Linked DNA regions of Homo sapiens: region 1 is linked to region 2. The links are contacts of gene promoters, found by promoter capture Hi-C in blood cells and fetal thymus (Javierre and others, 2016). All regions are on one chromosome and are shown on one strand. The core of a region is centred on a gene start or on the middle of the fragment in contact, and the rest is flanking DNA. Distances in the headings are between cores, read along the strand shown. Region 1 overlaps DOC2B (double C2 domain beta). Region 2 holds the start of TIMM22 (translocase of inner mitochondrial membrane 22).

Region 1 (2,700 bases), core at 128-2,627, 850 kb before region 2:
AGACATATGTCCACACAAAAACCTGTTCATTGCAGCTTTCTACCATCACCAAAAATTGCAAACAACCACACGCCCTTCAACTGGGGAACTCATCAACAACAAACTTGTGGTTTACCCACACAATGGAAGACCACTTAGCAACAAAAAGGACCAAACTCCTGGTACATGCAACTGACAGATGAATCTCAAACGCATTCCTCCGTGTGAAAGAAGCCGGACTCACAGGGCAACACACTATCTGACTGTTTCATGGGAAAGTCTGGAAACGGCAACACCATTGAGACAGAAAACAGGTGAGTGGTTGCCTGGGGCCAGGGAACTTTCTGGGGTCATATTCTCTGTGTTGATTCTGGTGGTGGAAACAAGACTGTCCCAGCCTGGGTGATACAGCGAGACCCCATCTCTACCAAAAAATTAAAAATTAGCTGGGCATGGTGGTGCATGCCTGTAGTCCCAGCTATTCACAGTGCTGAGGTGGGAAGATGCTTGAGCCCAGGAGTTCAAGGCTGCAATGAGCTATGATTGCGCCACTGCACTTTGGCCTGGACAACAGAGCAAAACCCTGTCTCTAAAAAAAGAAAAGAAAAGAAAAACTCACTGGATATGAATGATACAGGTTGAGGATCCATTATCTGAAATGCTTGGACCAGATGTTTTGAATTTTGGATTTTTTCATATTTTGTAATCTTTGCAGTATATTTACCAGTTCAGCATCCCTAACTCAAAAATTCAAAAATCTGAAATCCCAAACGCGCCAATAAGCATTCCCTTTGAGCGTCATGTCGGTGCTTGGAATGTTTGGGGTTTTGGATTTACAGCTTTGGGACGCTCAACCTGTACCTCAATAAACCTGATTTTAAAAAAGTTTGGGGGGATTCCCCTAAGCCCGCCACCCGGAGACAGCGGATTTCCTTAGTTACTTACTATGCTCCTTGGCCATTTCTCTAGGTATTGGTATATTGTGTCTGCTGTGAACTGTCCTTGGCCTGTTTGGTGACGGGTGAGGAGCAGGGACAGAAGGGTCCTGCGTGCCCTGCCTTCACAAGCCCCTGGAAGGAAAGTTGTTTTGGGATCTCTGCACCCTCAGCCTGGACAACTTGTGCCCATCTGGTGACCCCTCACTCAGCCACCAGACTTCCACGACAGGCTCCAGCCTCGGCACCTTCAGCCATGGACAGTTCCGCCAGCGTTGCCCTCTGTTCTGCTGTTTTCTCTACCAGAAGTGCCCTTCCCTCCTCACCTGACCACTCTGGGGAAATCCCTCAGCACCCTCCCTGAGCATACCCTACTCTGGCACAAGCCCACCCTGCAAAGCCCCTGAGGCCCGCCCTGTGGCGTCTCTCCCTCCCTTGCTGTCAGGACAGTGGTCCTGGCCACCGGGGCTCACGGAGCCGCCCTGTGCCGTGTACCTCTGAGCCCTCTGCACAGTGCCTTCTGCTTGCCTGTGGCTTTGAGAAGAAACCCCTTCTGGTTATACATAAGACAGCCAGAGAAGGGAGTTGCCCAGGGTGGCACAGCACGTTGCTGCCAGTTACTGCCATTTTCACGGGCATGAAATGGAGATAACAACAGGAGCGACCGCACAGGCTGCTGAGCGCGTCACACGCAGCCATCGCGCAGCTCAGGGATATTACGTGTAACTCGACATGTCAGCGATTGTCACAGGCACTGCTACTCCTGGGGTTTTCCATCAAACCCTCAAGAGCTGGGCCTGGGGTCAACTTCCGGCCTGGGGAAACTGGGGCAAGTATCACCAGAGATGAGCTTTATAAAAATAATGGTGCTAGCTGGGCATGGTGGCTTGCACCTGTAATCCCAGCACTTTGGGAGGCCGAGCTAGGAGGATCGTTTGAGTCCAGCAGTTTGAGACCAGCCTGGCCAATACGGCAAAACCCAGTCTCTACAAAAAATACAAAAAACAACTAGCCAGGCGTGGTGGTGCACACCTGTAGTCCCAGCTACTCAGGAGGCTGAGGGGGAAGGACTGCTTGAGCCCAGGAGTTTGAGGCTGCTGTGAGCTGTGATCGCATCACTGCATTCCAGCCCGGTGACAGAGTGAGTCACTGTCTCAAAAAAGAAAGGAAGAAATAAAGAAAACAAATAAAAATAATAGTGCAGACAAAAGGCCTTGACCCATCTAGCTTTGGCCCTCAGCATCAACCGCTAGATACGTCCCTCCCTTTCTTCTGGGGCACAGGTCACACTCTCTTCCAGGTCTAGGATGCAGCTGAGGGGTGCCCCTCTTACCATCTAATCTGTGCCCTTATTTCCTCTGCTTTAGTGAGGAAGAGGCCCCTGGTCCATGAAGGGGCCTTTCAGAGACGGGGACCCCTGAGGAGCCCCGAGCAGCAGCCGTCGTGTCTCACCCAGGGTGTCTGAAACAGATGTGGAGGTCTCGGGTGAGGCGTGGCTCAGATACAGGGAGTGGCCCACAGCTCGGCCTGTCTTTGAAAGGCCACGTGACCTGGCCCACGGCTGGCAGGTGGGACCCAGCTGCAGGGGTCCAGCAGCACCCACAGCAGCCACCTGTGGCAGGGAGGAGCTTGTGGTACAGTGGACAGGCCCTGCCCAGATGGCCCCCCGCCTGCCTGTGGAAGTTGACCAGACCATCTGTCACAGCAGGTAAGACTCTGCTTTCTGGGCAACCCAGCAGGTGACCCTGGAATTCCTGTCCATCTGGCAGGTGGGCATTGAAACTGG
Region 2 (2,700 bases), core at 168-2,667:
CTCAAACCCGGGAGGTGCAGGTTGCAGTGAGCGGAGATTGCACCACTGCACTCCAACCTGGGTGACAGAGCAAGACTCTGTCTCAAAAGAGTAATTTTAAAAAGTAAGGCAACAAATTATCAGGAGTTTTTGAGCTGGTTGTTAAGCACAGTTATTATTAAAAATTACATTCTATACATTTATAATAAATTACACTAAAAATAGGTAATATGTGCTCAAAACTCATCCCCTCCTAAAAATTTTACTACACTGTACTCCTATCTATGCTGTTGAGGTTATTTCCATAGATTGTATCTGTGTGATAGAAACACCATGTAACCACATGCTGCTGTACGTCTTCCCAATTCTGACTGATGACCTCGCTTGGTAGTTTGAAATCAGCCATGATGGGGATATTAACACCACACAAGTCAGCAAATGCTGTCAGTTAGGATTTTTTTTTTTTTTTTTTTTTTTTTGAGACGGAGTCTTGCTCTTGTCGCCCAGGCTGGAGTGCGATGGTGCGATCTTGGCTCACTGCAACCTCCACCTCCCGGGTTTAAGAGATTCTCCTGTCTCAGCCTCCCGAGTAACTGAGATTACAGGCGCCTGCCGCCACCTGGCTAATTTTTATATTTTTAGTAGAGACGGGGTTTCCTGCTTCAGCCTCCTAAGTAGCTGAGAATACAGGCGTGCACCACCATGCCCAGCTAATTTTTTTATTTTTTATTTTTTTAATTTTTAGTAGAGATGGGGTTTCACCATGTTTGTCAGACTGGTCTCGAACTCCTGACCTCGTGATCCACCGGCCTCGGCCTCCCACAGTGCTGGATGACAGGCGTGAGCCCCCGCGCCCGGTCCGTGCATTTACAGCACAAGTTCACGCTTATCTACAAAGCATCCACCTCTCACCGCACCTTCCGGGACCACGGGATTTAACGCCTCACCGCCCGATGACAGCACGAGGTGGAAAGGGCAGCGACAATGCTCGCGCGTCCCCTCCCGGCGATCCGGAGCACGGCAGCCCCGGAGCGCGCGGCCACTCCTCGCTCCCCTCAGGAGCTCGTAAGAGCCCCGCGCGGGGCCGAGGCGCGAGAGCACGCGCAACGCTTCCTGGGAAATGTAGTTGGGTGTCGGATTAGAACTACAAATCCCGGTACTCACCGCGCTGCAGCCCCGACCGTGAGGGCGCTTTCTGGTGAATCTGAATCTCGTTTGTCTGTGACATGGGGAAAGCTGTCCAAGCCCAATTCCATTTTCACAAGAGGCTTTCTTTTTGGAAACATGATAGCGGTCTCGCTGGTGTGCGCACCAGGAGCGTTGCGGCCGCGGCTTCCTCCTGCGGCGAATCTGCCGTTGCATCACAGTGGCTAGTCTCAGGGCCCGCAACGTGACGCTTGTCGAATCTGCTGCGGGGAGAAGGACGCGAGGGTTGCTTGGGCAGCGACTGTCATGGCGGCGGCCGCCCCCAATGCCGGAGGCTCGGCCCCTGAGACAGCGGGTTCCGCCGAAGCTCCGCTGCAGTACAGCCTGCTCCTGCAGTACCTGGTGGGTGACAAGCGTCAGCCCCGGCTCCTGGAGCCTGGGAGCCTGGGCGGGATCCCAAGTCCAGCCAAGAGTGAGGAGCAGAAGATGATCGAGAAGGCGATGGAAAGCTGCGCTTTCAAGGCTGCGCTGGCCTGCGTGGGAGGTGAGGCCGGGCGATGGGACCCTTGGGAGGCTGAGGGCCTGGACGGCAGTGGGGATCTCTGCCGAGAAGACCACGCGCCTGGGAGGCGAGGGACTGCGGGCCTTGACCTTGACCACACCCTCGCCTCGTTCGTGAATCGGGCGTCACCTCTCCTGCCCCCTCAGGCCGGCTTTCCTGATGAAAATTGGGTTAGAGAATCGGTGCTGTGGTTGGGGCCTGAAAGTTATTACATGACATCCTGGCTAACACGGTGAAACCCCGTCTCTACTAAAAATACAAAAAATTAGCTGGACGTGGTGGTGGGCGCCTGTAGTCCCAGCTATTCGGGAGGTTGAGGCAGGAGAATCGCTTGAACCCAGGAGGCGGAGCTTGCAGTGAGCCGAGATGTGCCACTGCTCTCCAGCCTGGGCGACAGAGCGAGACTCCGTCTCAAAAACAACAACAAAAAGTTATTACGTGGGTGACTTCATTCATCCGTTCATTCCCTTAAATTCATTCTCTTAAATAATTCTTTCAACAAATTGTTCCTAAGCAATATCACGTGCCAGGTGAAAGAGACAAGAGCCTGGTCTTCATGGGGCCTGTATTATACTATGTGGAGAAGAATGTTGAGCAGGAACACTGCAGAGGAAGGATGCAGACATATGGAAATGCACATGCAGACGACTCTAGGGCAGCAGTTGTTTGAGGTTTGAAAAACTGAAAGACCATTGTGACTAGACAGCCCCGAGCAAGGAGAGACGAAGTCTGCACTTGTCCTTCTGTTTTTCCCTTAAGTTGAAGGGGAGGTGCCCATGATTTTATTAAACTCATATTGACCATGAGGTCATGAGAGGGCATCCATCTGGACATGTCCAGCCGGCTCAGGAAGGACAGATGTGGCAGCAGTGTGGGATTTGCCATTAGGTAGCTGTGTGGCCTTGGGAGAAGTTGCTTAACCTCTCTGAGCCTCAGTTTATAGAAAGGAGAGGCTAATAGCATCTGTCTCACTGGATTATTGTGAAGAATGAATGAGGCTGTGGCATACTGGC

Evidence for each region. Contacts are between HindIII fragments. The CHiCAGO score rates a contact against its expected background, and 5 or more counts as called.
Region 1: a fragment that was not itself captured here is called in contact with the fragment with the promoter of TIMM22 in region 2 in 15 of 17 cell types (naive CD8 T cells, M2 macrophages, fetal thymus and 12 more); the score reaches 15.1 in naive CD8 T cells.

The regions. Positions count from the first base shown.
Region 1 is chr17:150,701-153,400 of GRCh38, forward strand. The region is part of intron 6 of DOC2B (double C2 domain beta); the gene reads right to left. Among named protein-coding and RNA genes, the nearest start is that of SCGB1C2, 14 kb to the left of the region's middle. The HindIII fragment of the contact is 3,739 bases long and covers 1-2,700 here.
Region 2 is chr17:995,712-998,411 of GRCh38, forward strand. It overlaps TIMM22 (translocase of inner mitochondrial membrane 22), which reads left to right and starts at 1,418. Exons shown (of 4, transcript NM_013337.4): 1 at 1,418-1,669. The coding sequence starts at 1,432. RefSeq lists an enhancer at 1,440-2,131. The HindIII fragment of the contact is 11,380 bases long and covers 1-2,700 here.